Regions from separate parts of the Homo sapiens genome. Here region 1 is linked to region 2. Evidence: promoter capture Hi-C in 16 types of primary human blood cells and fetal thymus (Javierre and others, 2016). All regions are on one chromosome and are shown on one strand. The core of a region is centred on a gene start or on the middle of the fragment in contact, and the rest is flanking DNA. Distances in the headings are between cores, read along the strand shown. Region 1 overlaps POU3F3 (POU class 3 homeobox 3). Region 2 holds the start of OSR1 (odd-skipped related transcription factor 1).

What was found. The method cuts DNA at HindIII sites, captures the fragments that hold promoters and counts their contacts. A CHiCAGO score of 5 or more calls a contact.
Region 1: a contact is called between a fragment that was not itself captured here and the fragment with the promoter of OSR1 in region 2, in 1 of 17 cell types (total B cells). The highest score is 16.1, in total B cells.

Annotation. Positions count from the first base shown.
Region 1 is chr2:104,856,253-104,863,727 of GRCh38, forward strand. It overlaps POU3F3 (POU class 3 homeobox 3), which reads left to right. Exons shown (of 1, transcript NM_006236.3): 1 at 1-2,322. The coding sequence ends at 761. LOC124908045 reads right to left here. Exons shown (of 2, transcript XM_047446880.1): 2 at 6,989-7,475. The coding sequence ends at 6,989. Among named protein-coding and RNA genes, the nearest start is that of POU3F3, 5.9 kb to the left of the region's middle. The HindIII fragment of the contact is 3,665 bases long and covers 2,874-6,538 here.
Region 2 is chr2:19,356,405-19,363,918 of GRCh38, forward strand. OSR1 (odd-skipped related transcription factor 1) reads right to left here and starts at 2,219. Exons shown (of 3, transcript NM_145260.3): 1 at 1,937-2,219. RefSeq lists enhancers at 1-897, 1,563-2,091, 6,900-7,514. The HindIII fragment of the contact is 8,359 bases long and covers 1-3,851 here.

The sequences.
Region 1 (7,475 bases), core at 3,456-5,955, about 86 Mb after region 2:
GCGGTGGAGCCCAGAGCTTGGTGCACCCGGGGCTGGTGCGCGGGGACACGCCAGAGCTGGCCGAGCACCACCACCACCACCACCACCACGCGCATCCTCACCCGCCGCACCCGCACCACGCGCAGGGACCCCCGCACCACGGCGGCGGCGGCGGCGGCGCGGGGCCTGGACTCAACAGCCACGACCCGCACTCGGACGAGGACACGCCGACGTCGGACGACCTGGAGCAGTTCGCCAAGCAGTTCAAGCAGCGGCGCATCAAGCTGGGCTTCACGCAGGCCGACGTGGGGTTGGCGCTGGGCACACTCTACGGCAACGTGTTCTCGCAGACCACCATCTGCCGCTTCGAGGCCCTGCAGCTGAGCTTCAAGAACATGTGCAAGCTCAAGCCGCTGCTGAACAAGTGGCTGGAGGAGGCGGACTCAAGCACCGGCAGCCCCACAAGCATCGACAAGATCGCGGCGCAGGGCCGCAAGCGCAAGAAGCGGACCTCTATCGAGGTGAGCGTCAAGGGCGCGCTGGAGAGCCACTTCCTCAAGTGCCCCAAGCCCTCCGCGCAGGAGATCACCAACCTGGCCGACAGCCTGCAGCTCGAGAAGGAGGTGGTGCGGGTCTGGTTCTGCAATCGGCGCCAAAAGGAGAAGCGCATGACGCCGCCCGGGATCCAACAGCAGACGCCCGACGACGTCTACTCGCAGGTGGGCACCGTGAGCGCCGACACGCCGCCGCCTCACCACGGGCTGCAGACGAGCGTTCAGTGAAGCCAGGGCGCAGAGCGAAGAGGGCCGCCGCCGCCGCCGCCTCCGCAGCCGCCGTCAGCACCGCCGCCGCCCCTGCCGCCGCCGCCGCCGCCGCCGCCGCCGCTGCCGCCGCCGCGCCGACCCTGCACCTGGGCCGCTCCGGGCTCCAGCCCAGGCCCATCCGCCGCCCTCCCCTCCACCCAGAGACAGGCATGCCCGCCCTTGGAGGAGAAAACGCGGGAGAAACGGACCAAGGAGGCATTTTTGCAGTCCAAGGAAGGAGGGGCCAAAAAATAAAAAGCATAATAAACACCCAGACTGTTTTGTATACATATATAACAAACAAAACCGGAAGAGAAAAAGGGGGCGATCATGAGATCTCGTTCATACTGTGGTGGTGTTTCGTTTTTGTTTTTGTTTTTAAAGAAGGGTGAAGATGCCTGACGCACGAAAACTGCACTCGTGAGGTTTTTCCACCCTGAGATGACCTACACGGCAGCGGTGGACAGCACCTGCCTCGTCTTCTCCTCTTTGAAAAAAAGAGAGAGAGAGAGTCCCCTTTCCTTTCACTTTCTCCCTCCAAAACAGCTGCCTAAAGAGATCCACGGAAACTTTATTTCCTGGGAGCGACCTGAGAGAAAACAGAGGCACCAGGTTCCATCAGGGGACGACACCGTGCTCTGGGACCCTGTTTTTCTTGGCCATATTAAAGTCATTTGGAAACAAATCAACTCTGAAATGGGAAGGAGGGGGGAAAAACAGTCTCCAAGAAAAAAATAATTATATTGACAGCTTCTGAAACTAACAGACTGAATAGCAAAGCCAAAAGAAAAGTATCCTCAAAGTAACCTTGGAAATAAAAGGATCGGGAAGGAGCAGAGGGAGAGGGGGAACGTCCGCTGAGGAGTGGCGAGAGGCCCCGGCCGAGTCGGGTCGCGGGCGGGCGGGCGAACTGGGAGCAGAGCGGGGGCCCAGCCAGCGAGGCCGCCGAGCCAGGCCCGGCCGCGTACCCAGGCTTTGACGGCTGCCATTCAGGGTGGACGATGCCTAAAGATTCCACCGCTAATATTTTTTTTATTAATATTTTTTATTTTTTATTTCTGGACTGACTCAGATAAAGGAATTTAGAAAGACTGAGCACCAGCCGCTGCACTTCTCTGGACTTCTCTCCTCAATCCGTTGCCAACTTTGATTGAATGGGTGCTGTGGATGTGATTATATAATACTGCCATTTCCAAGCAGTGTTTTTGGTAGGTTTTAATAAACAGACTTTTCAAAAGACGGCAATATAGAATTGTTAGATCCGTTGTTGATCTAAAAATATTTGCTTTATATTTTCATTAAATGACTTCTTTTAATATTTTATTCAGAATACTTATGAACTGCTGCAAAACGGTAATTTATTTTTCCCCAGATCTTGTATTACGTGTTTTTTTCAGACGAGCACAAATCAAAATGAAATGAAAATATGGACAGTTGTTAGGTAATAAGGGTATCTTTTGATGTGATCATTTGATTGTAATTTAATTTGAGTAGTGATTCCGTAAGAGCTGATCGAGAAAATAAATTTGTTAGAATGAAATAGTCTGTGTCTGATGCGTAAACACTGTGTGGGAAGAAAAGAGTTCTTTAAGAAATATTTTTTTACTAATGAAAATCCCTAAGTAATAGCGTTGAGGAAGTAGAGCCTGCTCCACTTAAGGTACTTTTGGAAATCTAGAGTAAAGCATAGGCATTGCTGAGACAGCTAGTATTTTAACATAGTAGTCACTCCTCGATAATCCATAAATTCACAATATTTTTCTCTCCCTTAATTTTAGTGGATGTCTTTAGTGTTTTCAGGTGAGATTGCCTAAATATTAACCCTTTTCTTGGCGATACCTGTGTTTCTTATCGAAAGATTGAACGATATCACCAGTAAAAATGAGCCAACTGGCTATTAATGGTTAATACAGCCCCTCCCCCCAAGTTCAGCTTCTTTTTTCTTCTCCTGTCCCCCTCCCAACATGTTCCTGTCTCTTTTCTCTTTTTCTCAAGACTATAGTTGTTAGGAGTCGCTTATAAGTCTTATAAAATATTTTGATATCAATTACTTCCCATCAATAACTATATGTAATTAAATTTAAATTATTAAGCTTTTTGGGTTTTTTCCCCCCGTAATAAAAGAATATAGTTCTAAAATCCTGATTATGGTCCACACTGCATACCATCTGTGCAATTACCAACTCAGACTTAAGGTTCTATATTTCTGTGTTTTTGTCTCTCCCCAGTATGATTCTATATCTTCTTTACTGGTGCTGGGGGTTTTAGGTCACCTTTTACATAAACCCTGCAGAGTGGTCACATTGATCAAGTTAATGTTTCAATATTTACAATGTGGGAAAATGAAAGTGTAATGCCTCAGGTTGTGAGTACTTAAGACGCTAAAGGCTCGGCTTAGTTGAGTCCCTATATATTGTACTTAAAAGTATTTAGCAGTGGTAGAGCAACGATTTTATAGACAAATTCCCCCCAATCTCACTTAGCTGTCACTCACTTTTTTTCCTCCTTCTCTCATCTTCACTCCCTCTCCCTGTGATATCAATGCAGGGGTTAAAAAACCCGGAAAACTGTGAGAGCAACAAGGCACAGTTATTTCTCCCAGACAGGCCCTGTGTCACTTTCATAAATCAAACCCAGCCAGATGGCCATGTATTGGGTTGCATTATTTTAAACACCAAATCGTACTAAAAATCACAATCATTTTGATTTGTGAAATCTGAAAAAGGCCACATATATTAAACAGAGAGAAGAAAAAAATGAAGACAAGAAACCACAATTTACTTTTCTTTGCCTTCTTGTTCCCTATTTCTCTTGCTGCTGTAATCCCTATGCCCAGCAAATTTACAACCTGGAGTGGGGGTGGGGGAGAAGTTCACCATTTTGGGGGTGTCTAGAGAGGCAAGCAAAGAAGTCCTCATTGGAAAGCTGAGGACTGGTCAGGTTGTTTTTATGTGGTGGATACTACTGGCACGTGAGATGGAATCTTGTTTTTCCTATGGGAATGGTGGTGGTTGATTAGACAAGTAATAGGTCTATTAAAAAAATTTCAGGAGGTATCTACTTAGTTGATTTAGCTGACAACAAAAGAGCTAACATTAGATTTCACACTGTTTTCTATTAAAAAGCAAACTTTGCTGATTACTTTGGAAGAATCCCTGATTTGGGGGTAGCAGAGTAACTTTTAATTGGAGAAGCTGGGAAAGCAAACCCATTTTGTTTCATTATTTGCATTTTATAAAGTGAGCTAATGCTTGCACTCCATTTTTTTTAATCAACCCTTTCAATGTAATTACAAAATGAAATTCATGGTTGAAAAACAAAAGAGGGCAGATATAACTGAGAGGTTTTGTGCTAAGGCTTATATTGTTACACATGTAAATAATGAAAATATTGTTATATATCACCAGATCTTTTTAATGAATTTGGTCATTGTGTTCCTTTGCAGTGCAAGTGTCTTGTGCTTCGTAAAGTGCCCATTTGTTTCCTCCATTTCAATCCAACCCCCCCTCCCCTTCCAACCCAAAGGAAAGTGACAAAGTTCTGTTCCATCAGCCTTGCTAATCCCAAGCTAGGCCCACTTACAGTTTACAGTCTCCTGTGGCTCTTGATCAGTTGTCCAAGCCTCCGTCGCTCCCACAACCATCTTCCCCTGGCAAGTCTGTGCGATAAATCATTCAAGGTGTATTGAAAATAGTCACTTTGCTATTGTTGCTCTGCCTTTTTTTTTTTTTTTTTTTTTTTTTTTTTAGTACTTAGCCAAGGACTACTTCTTTGTTCCGAAGAGAACTGTTCGTTATTGATCTTAGCGATTCCCTTTGCTGCCCTGTAGCCTCCAGTGTTTGCTCATGACCATGCTCATAATCTGTTTTGTATGAATGGTTTTGAACATTCAGAGAATAATTGGTTCTAATATTAAATGCAGTATATACTATTGATAGTTTTATCGATAAGTGTAATATTTTAAATAATTTTAACAATTAAATTTGTTTTTTAAATTATATATTTGTAAAGTATTTATCCTGTTGAAAGCAACAATATATTGTTGTATTTATTCGTTTATTTTTGTAATAAATGATCAACCTCTTCAAGCTAAATCAAAAATGATACTTTTATATATTTATACAAAAATGTACTTTAAGAGACGGGCATATTTGCACTAATTTGTATGTAAATTGAGTAAAATCCATTAATAACTTGTAGCTTTCAGTACTAAATTGAAGGAAGAAACATTCTCTCCACATGGAGTTTAGTTTGCCCAAGTTCCAGGGTAATTAATCAACTCTAAAATGGATGCAACAAGTATTGGCACTGGATGCAGACTTGAAATTAATTATTTAAAAGGTGGACCTGATTGTTTTTTTAAGGCAGAAAGACAGAAATTAAAGAATTTTCTTCTTTCATGAAATGCACGTGGCTGGCTGCAAGGATTAGAGCAGATGCTATGTTTCAGTGATAACCTAATACCTGACTGTGCTCAGACATCTACGTTGGGAAAGGGAGTTGTAATAAGAGTTGGGAGTTTGAGGTTATCAGTGACCCAGAAACAAGGTGATGTGAAAAAAGAAGAGTTGTGCTAGACTGAAGAAAAAAAATTAGATGATCTATAAAATGACTGTGAGTGGAGAAGCCCTTTGTCCTAGTCCAGCTACTAACAGCATAAGCAATCAGCACAGGTGTTGTTGTCGTTGTTGTTGCTGCTGCTGCTGTTGTTGTTGTTGAGTGACGCATGTGAGAAGCGTGGGGCAACCTCTCAGGCTCTCCAAGTTCTGTAGGTCGGTTGGTCATCTCAGCTCCTCAGGGCTGCTGGTCTGAGGGCCTGAAGTTCACCCATGTGACCTCCTGGGTGCAGGATCCTCACGGTAGGCTTGACGTTGATTTCAATAAGGAAAGCAGAAGCCTCTGCGTTTGCATCCTGAACTTTGCAGCCTAGGAAAGGAAATAGTGCGCAGGCTGGAGGAGCTGGGGGTGGGGGCAGCGGAGATAGCAGGAGGGGTACTTGTGTAATCAGATTCTTTGATTTTGTTAGCCTGGCTCATGGCCTATTAATTAGATTACTCTCTCTTTCATTCTTGATTTCACATCCGTGTTTGTTCCTGTATCCTAAAATGCGGGCGCGAGCTTGGCGAGCAGGAGCCTATGATGTCACTGCCGGCCAGAGGCGGCCGCCTGGCCTTCTGGCGGGCTGTGCGCTGCGTTCTTGATGAGTCCGGTCTTCCTCAAGGAAGAGTTGGCTCTGGAAGTGACCTCAGAGGGGTCTGGGAAGAGGGCAACAGTCATTCTCTTGGCGGCACGATGTGTGCGCTAGTGTGTGCGCGCGCGTGCCGTGTGCATGTGGGTGCGCGTGAGGGGAGGGGGAAGCGGAAATTCGCAGTCTGGACCCCGAAGCCCTAGGGGTACAGGCGACGGGGTCAGGTGTAAGGCCTGCCTCCGGTGAAAACCCCGGATCAGAAGAGGCGGAGGGGGAGGGGGACCCGAGGCAGCCGGGCGTCCAAAGCTCGCTTCTCTCCGGGAGGGAGGGCAGGGCTGGGCGCGGAGGTGGGGCGGTGGCGGTCGCGGTGGGGCGGCCGGGTCCCTGCTCGGCCCGGCACGGCCGGGCGGCCAGACTGTGGCAGCTGCTGTGGGTCCCACAAGTTGTTTTCCTCGTGGCGACCATTCAGCAAAACGCACGAACCTTTCTCAAAGATTTAAATTTCGCGGATGAATTACCATACACCCGTTGCTTAGCAACTAAATTCAAGCAGGGCTAAGAATATGCAAGCTTTTTGTATTCTCATTAATAAAAATGCCACTCTGACACAGCAACCCGACTTTGGATCACTGCAACTTCTGTAAAAGCCGTAGGAGAATACAAACCGATCCTGCCTTTCAATTACAGATCAAAATGGCTTGAAACGCGATGTTTTGTTCATCTATCTTCCTAAAAAGCGATGGAAAAAATAACGGCTTTCAAGAGCAATAGTAAATTCTTTTTTTTTTTAATGGAGTTGTCTATCGGGGTTACTGATAATTGTCAACTGAACCCTTTTGAAACACAGGTTTAAATAAACCTTTTCATAAACATGTCCACTCTCTCCCTCAGTCCCTCCTACCCTCTGATCCTGTTCTTCCCCAGCCTCATAATAACAATTATTATTATTATTATTATTATTATTATTATTATTATTATTATTATTCTGGAAACGCTCAGGCCTGTGGAGCCCTAGAGACTAAAGGGCAGTCAGCAGAGTAATGAGCAAACCTGGGGGCTGGAGAAAGTCCAAGGAATTGAGGAGCGAAGGAAAGGGAAACTTCTGAAAGTTTCCCTGGAAGGTTGAGGGAGTTGCTGGAGGCTGGAGTCGGCTCAGGTTCCAGAGGTTCTGGCGATAACTTTCTGCAGGGCTTGTGGAAGGAAAGGTAGAAATGCCTGTGGGTCTCTGCGCGACGTTTGCGGATTTTCCGTTCTGGGGGTGCAGCCTCCTCCCAGGAGAATTGAGTTGCCGCCCACGCTGCTGACGGTGGAGTTCAGAGGGGCTGAGTTCAAGGCCTGGCTGACCCGGGCTTTCTCTGAAATCCACCTCTCTGCTGCCCAGGGCCCTGGAGCCCTGGAGCGGAGGACAAAGTAAAGACGGATCTGGACCCGTGACCCCTTGGGTCTTCCCGGACTGTGGCCCAGCCCACAGACCAGGGCCCGAAATTGAGGTGGGGGGCGTACTC
Region 2 (7,514 bases), core at 969-3,468:
CCCAGGCTCCCGCCAACGACTTTCCCCAGGACGAAATTCATTCGAAACGTGGCTCTTTACACTAGTATCAAGAATGGGCCGAAAGCACGATCCGGTTTCAGGAGGTCGGTTAAGAGAAAAACACAGTCTCACCCTAGCCTCTCCAGCCAGAAAGGATGAGTGAGCCCCCGGCTCCTCCGGCTCCGGTTTCCCAGACCGCGGAACCCCAGGGCGAATACTTTCGATCTTTAAACACAGGATGGAAAACCCTTCCCCAGGCTAGGCACCCATTCCTCAAACAGCTTGGGCCTCAGGACCTGCGGGAAAGAATAAGGGGACCCGACCACGCACAGCAGACGCAATTCGCGCTCGGGATCCCGAGTCCCTGCGCAGTGCGGGCACTCGCGTCCCTCGCGCGGTGGAGCGCCAATCCCAGGTCTGCGGCCAGTCCTATGCTGGGCATTAATGAAGTGTGCAGAGTCTATTAAAGTGGTTTATTCGGGGCTAATTGAGCGTGAGCAAGTTAACTGCTTGCATTAATGAGAACGGGAGCGAACTCCACGAGTTTGCGCCTGGGGGAGCCCAGCAGCAACCCAAGAAAATCAGCCTTGACATCGAATCTCCAACGAGTGGTGACAGGCGTCCGGACCCCCGTGAAGAGGACTGACCGGCACCGGATACTTCTATAGCATTCTCCCAACAAACGAGATCTAACGAACCCATTGGCAAGGCGGTCATCCGGCTGCACTTAAATGTCCGCTGCGTCCTCGGTGATCCATTCCCCAATCTTAATAAAACAGCAATTACCTCGAGGAGCCTGGGATGGAACATCTACACGCCGCCGGTCGCTGCTAGTCCCCTCCAGCGCTTCTCTTCCCTAGGGGGTTGTGAACCTGGGACACCTAGCCTTGCACGTGGTTTTGTTCCGCAGAGCCAATGCGCAGCTCTTAGCCTGGGTGAAATTTACCAAATTGTGGCAACAAAGAAACCCTTGCGGCTACTTTACACATTGAGAACCCAACCCGCTACTGCCTGAGCTGCTGAAAAAGGACTAAACGTGGTTTTTCATTCTTCTCCGAGACATTTCCGAGGAGAAATTAGTTCAGCAGGCAGCCCTTCACCCCTTTCCCCCTTCTTTCTCTCCTGACGGCTGGATTAGCGGACAGTCAGGGGAGTAACAGAACTTTTCCTGTCCCCAGCCCGGAGACCCTAGGGCTCCACAGAGTTTCCACTAGTGCTGTGTGTGGGTCTCGAATTGGAAAGCAGTGCTTGCGCCCACTGCATTGCCTCCCTGCACCAGGACAATCAAGGGTTCCGCTCCAGGCCTTGACGACACAGAGCAATCATCCTATGGAGAATATCCCTAAGTTAGAGCGCGAGTGCAAGGCGGGGTTCAGACTCGCAGCCCTGCGCTCTCGGGTCTAGGCGGCCTCATACTAGAGCGCAACTCCTCAAAAGACAAACTTGAACGAAAGCGCTACCGAGCTGGGGCATGCACCTGTCCCTGGCGCGGTCGGCTGCGGCTGTGGCCATTCACTCCCTCTCCCTTCCTTCTTCGTCAACCTGGGCGTCAGCCAGAGCTAGGAGCGCGTCTCAGGAAAGTTTGTGCCCGCTGAAGTTGCTCTGGTTTCTTAAAGGGGGCCCACAGATTGACTTTCAAAGTCCGTGGGCACCTCGCCCGTGATTCCGCAGAGCCGGGCGGGCTGGCCGCAGTAGCGGAGGCCCGCCCCCCTTAATCCCCAGCGGTCAGAGGCCGAGGACCCCGCGCAGGAAGTCCTGAGGCAGCACCCCCAACCACCCTGCTCTCACTTTCACAAAAGTCCTACAGCATTCGTTTGGCAAGAGCTTCCTTCAGGGGCATTGAGAGAGAGGAGGCACCCGCCGAGCAGTGACAAGGAACCTGGGAGTCCTGCCCGCATTCGCTTTGCTGAGCCCAGGCGCCCAGGACTGCAATTACCTTGTTCCGCAGAGGTCCTGGGGCTGAGCACGTCTCTGGGGCTTTAGCTGAAGGGGACTGGGGAAGCCGGAGGCCCTGGAGCCCACAGGCGCCCCTGGAGCTCTAGTGTCCCGACTCCTCTCCTGCCGCGGGGACTCCAAGCGCCGGACACGCGGGAGCGAGCGCTCAGCAGCCCCGGATCCTGCACGCCGGGGACGGTGAGCCTCGCTCGCGGCTCCCTCGCTGGGTCTGAACCAGGAGCAGCTGAGAACGTGCCGGGGAGAGGCCGAGCTCCGACTCACTCATCCCTTAGCACCGAGCCGCCTACTTATTTTAATCCACCACCCTCCCTCCTCCACCACCCCCACCCCCGCCCCTTGCCTCAGGATTCCTCCCCTCCCTCCCCTGCCCCCCAACCCTGCCCTGCGCCTGCGCAATGAAAGACAAAGTTTTTGCTGACCCGGGCAGCAGACTTTGGCAGCTGCTCTCGCTTGGACCCGGCCTCTCCCAACCTGCGTCCCCTCCTCTTCAGTCCCGCGCGACCCCTGCTGCCTTTTTAGGTCCAGAGCGGCACGCCTGGCGCACTGGAGGAAACGGTCCCTAGCAGATGAGAGCGGGCTGGCACCGCACGTTTCGAGGTCCTATACTTGGGCTCCTAGGACACAGCCCGTGCTCTTTGGGAGGAGGGAGGGAGGGGCAGTAGCTCTGTGCACCGGGATCCCCACACCGCGGCTTGGGTTTCAACGCACTTTGGCGCCTGACAGAGTCGCATCTCCTCCCAGAATCTCTTTCCAGAGGCGGCAGACCCCGAGTGTGGAGCAGCTCCTGGCTATCCAAGCGTGCTCGGGGCCAGGGTGTTAACCCAGGCAGCGCTGGTTAATTCCTGGTGCGGGAGGGCCAGGGTCACCGAAGCAAGCGAGCTGTAACATCTGAGTGCTTATGGTTGACCCCAGACCCTAAGTTCTGGAGTCCAGTAGAAAGAACAAAGAGTAGGGAAAGGAGGTCAGGAAAGTTATTTTCCTGGGGCCCAGAACTCTCTGAGATTTCACCCCAATGCACAGTGGCACTCTCTACTTACATATTTGTTTTAGGATGGATCAGAGTTTAGAGAGCCGCACTGGCAAGCTAGACGAGCTGCAAAGTTGTCAGTTCCAGGGCCTCTGAGTCAAGGAGCTGGTTCAGGTGGAGTTTTTAATCGGAAAGGAATCAGAGTTCTGGACATTAAAAATTCTATCTTCATTGCCTAGGCATTATGGAGGGTACCATCACCCCCTTGACTACCCATCTCTGAAAGCTGACCTCCGGCTGACCCCAGCCCAATCCCTCCCTAATGCCTTTCTGGAATACCCTTCCAGGCCTTGGGTTTGGCAAGGAGGAGTCACTGGTTTCCTGGGACTTGTGTGGGTCCAGATCACACAACTGCACTCTCTGCCTTTGCCCCAGAGTTGCTGCTGAGTGACTCTTGGAGCTGGATCCTAGATTCCGTGGGTCCCTAAGTACTGTACTGCTTCTCTCCCGAGGAGCTTCTGCTATCTCCAGCTTTGGTTTGCAAAGCTAATCTGATTTTCTTGGGAGGTGAAGAAGGTTGTAATACCTGACCTAGGGAGATGGTAATGAAGACTCCCCTCCCTCAAAGGCATAGTTGAAAGAGGATTTCCTTATATCCCCAGGCCTTTAGAACAGAATCTAGCCTCTAACCCCTGGGTAACTTCGTCTTGTTTGAGGAGGAGTAAGAGGGGGTGCAATCTTTGCTCCAACGAACAGCTTTTACCCAGTGCCTCAGGTTAGTGCAGAAGTAAGAGATTCACATAAGTTTGTCCATGCTCCTGGAATCTTAGCAGTTGCTAGGATGTAGTGACATTCTTGCTAGAGTAAGAACCCTTGGAAGAGAAGAGAGCTGAGATCACACCTCCTTCCTAGAGATTCCAGAACAGAAAGCTTCAAGGGCAAGGAAAGGCCTGGAGGGAAAGTCTACACAGGGCAATGCTGAACTTTGCTGGCTTCCACCTTGGGCACAGGGAGTGTGCTTGTTCCAGCCTCAGGCTCTCCAAATAAGCAAAGCTTGGGTAACCTCCATTACCAGCAGCAAAAGTTAAGAAGTAAAAAAAATGCCCACACGATAGGGCCTCTGGCTGTCCAGATCACTTAGGAATAGTGGCTGGTCATTCAGGTGGGATGGAACCTCCTGGGGTGTAAATACCCAAACTCCTGCTATGCACCCCTCATAACTCAGCTGGGCTTCTTTTATGTTTCTCCTTGTCTTTCTTTTCTAAAACAGGGCCCTTGGCCAATATGCCTCAGAACTTCCAGAAAGCCCTAAGTAGTAGGATCCCTAAAGAGCTCTCGGAGAGAAAGTGTTCCTGATCTTAAAGAAGAAACATGCAACCGAGTTGTTTCACCACTGCTTTGCCAGATTATCTTGAAAACTGATCCTGACTCAGGTCTCTAGAACTTAGTAGATGTAGAGCAGGTTGTAGAGCAGATGTAGAGTAGATGGAAGCAAGGTTGGTGTTGGTCCCCCAGGCTGTGCCTCCCAGAGAAATCATGACCACCTCTGCCTGGAGCTGGTCAGCAAGGCCACAACAGGACAAGGCCAGAGTGCACCTGAGTGCTAGTGACGATGGCTCTCCACAAGGGCTCACCTGTTTCAGAAGCCTGGCTTCAGAGAGGCGTCTCCTAGGTCGCTGACAATGCACAGCCTCAGAAAGCCAGGATAACGAAATTCAAGAATTGCTAGGAGCTGAAAAGTCCTCCATCCCGCTCTGAGCTCCCAAGGGGGTGACCCCCAAACCCTAGCCTTGACCTCCACAGGAGGCCAACCAAAGTCTGGGTTCCTTCTGGGCGGGGCAGGCAGGAAGAAGCCCAGGAAGCTAAGAATCCCTCCGGCCGTTCGGTGCTGCGGTATCCCATCCCCCGCCTGTTTAAGAGAAATTGATCACGTTAAGCGGGCCCTGCGTCGCTGCGCAGTGCCCGGACTACCGCTTGGATGGATTGACAAGGGAAGGACGCAGGACACCTAAGAGCAACAAGGGTACTTTTTAAGCGAGGTTACATGTGTTTAGGACTCGCGAGGACGTCACGTTTCGAATTTGGTAAAAGTCCTCGGTAGCTAGGACCCAACAGTTCTGCCCTCCTGGAAACCCAATGAAGGTGACAAAACTCCCATCTCATTACTGGGAGTCCAGCGCACTCCGCCACCGCGGCTGCAGCTTCTGCTAGCTCGGAGCCTGCGGACTCCAGCCGGCGCGAACTCCGCCGCGACTCTTTCTGGCTCTCTCGCTCACTGCCTTCGGGGCGGAACCGCGGGCGCCGGAGTGGTCCCAGACTCGGCTGGGACCGGGCAGCCTAGAAGAAGGGTCCCCTCAGTAGAGACCAGGCCTCCAGCTCTCCGTCCGGCGCTCCGCTCCACAACCCGCCAGTCGATGTGAGGTCCGTCAAGGGAGCGATCCCTCCGTCTGCCCGGGCTTCCGGGCTGTGGACCGCACTGAACCCAGTCCCGCAGCAAGCCCTGCTGCCGCCTTTTCCTGGGCACGCCTGCGGTGGTGACGGCCCGCTGCTCATGTCTCCACGCCAAACCCCAGCCCCTCTCCCGATTCCTGCTCCTTGGTAAAGCGCCCCAGCCTGTCTTCGGAGTGAAAATTGAGCAGCTTCCAGAAAATTAACTAGAATGTGGTCTATATTGCTTTGAGTTGTTTTGGATTCAAAAAAAAATGAACCCCACCTCTCCGCACCCCATAGCCTAAAAAAAAAAAAAAAAGTCCTCATTTTTTCAAATGAAGTTTGCTCAGCACTTGCGAATTTTTGCTTCCAACGCAACTACTTCCTGTAACTACTTTGCAGACAATTGGGGGTCTGCTCGTTAGAAACCCCCTTACGCATGTACAGGGCTTTCAAATAACCTGGAGATTTAGGCGTCCCTCTGTATTCATTTAGATGATGGATAGTAATGGCTCAATAGTTCCTCTGGAACCATTACGGTCAATCAGGTCAAAATCCAGCTTGGGGGTGGGAAGGATTTTTAAGCACGGGAGGTAGGTAACAGGACTCCTGCGCACATTTGTTCAGATAACACCTCTGATAACGTAATGCAATCCAGGGTCCTTAAGAGAACAGATGCCAGGTGAACGCAAGAGCGGGTGTTTTTTGTTGTGACAGCGACAGACAAGTTACAGTATCAAAACTGAAAGGGAAAGTGAACTGTTTTTCCAGGCAGTTCCCGTTTGGTAAGTTCTTTACGGGCACACAAATGTAACTCTTTCACCTTAATAAATGTAACAATACATACACACACACACACACACACACATATACCTTTGGTTTGTAAAAATATGTGTGACATGAAGCATAAATACTAGCATGGAATTGCATGGGCATACGATCATCGGGAAAATGGAATGATGATGTCTTCTGTTGTGAAGATCAAATGTAAAATGTATGTAAAAGACGGCATGGGTTTTTACTTTTTACACAAATTTGAGTTGTCAGACTATTTTAGACACATCCAGATCTATGTACTAAGGTTAATGAACTTTTCCTTTTTCCAAGGTGTAAATAAGTGCATTAGAAACAAGGCAATGTCTAATCAGCCGGGGATGTTGGAGAACAGTAGTTTGAACGGAATTGTGAATAGTTAGGGTGGAATCCTGCAGATAGAGCCACCTACTGCACCCGCGGCGCTGGGTCCTTCCGGGCTGCACCGGCGGCGGGTGGCGCTGGAGGAAGGAGAGTTCGCGGTAATTAAACATTTCCAGACACCGGAGGGTTATTATCTGCAGAGCGATTTCCGGCGATGGGACTCGGAGAGAGTCCGGCTGCGAGGTTTCGAGATTCTGGGACGCAATCCTAAAGAAAACGTGCCCCCTGCTGGCGAGCAAGCCACATCTCGGGACCCCTTCTTGGAAAACTCGCAAACCCACAGTATCCTTATTTCACTTTGCCCAAGAGTATTTTAGTCCTTCAGTTTTTCTTTTCTCAGTTAGAAGTTTGCTGCTACTCATTTAAAAGTACGCACACGCTTACCCTTCCAAAGAGCAAACGGAGGAGGAATTTCTTCTCGCCACGGGGTTTCTGTTTCCCTGCCCCAAACCAGACGTCCTTGCTCTCAGATGGATGAGGGCTTTTGTTTGTTTGTTTGTTTGTTTTTAAATAATCCGAAATTCCTAGCAACTATCTGCCGCCGTTCGCTTCTGGTCCTGGGAAGACGATGAGCAAAGATCTACTGGGACCCCATCCTGCATTTGCAAGCTCGGTCCGCGTGCCCCTCCCGGCACACCCGGAGGTGAGAAGTGCCCTCCGGTGCCTCCGTCCGCAGCCCCTCGTAGGTCTGCACGTCCTGCTTCGGATCCCAAATCCTGGCTTTCTGAAGAAGCGCGGGAAGAAGAGAGAGAGTCTGTTTCCGTGAATCGATTTCCCTGAAACACGTGAGGTTTCCTATCCTCTCCTTCCTCCCAGACCATTAGATTCCAGTTCCTCTGCTGCTTCCTTTTTTTTTTTTTCGGATTTCCGTACAGAATATTCTAGCAGGACCCTCCCTTGTCATCATAGCTCTAGGTATTCAGATAGAGACCTGAAGAGAGAAATCCTAAGAATATACCTATTA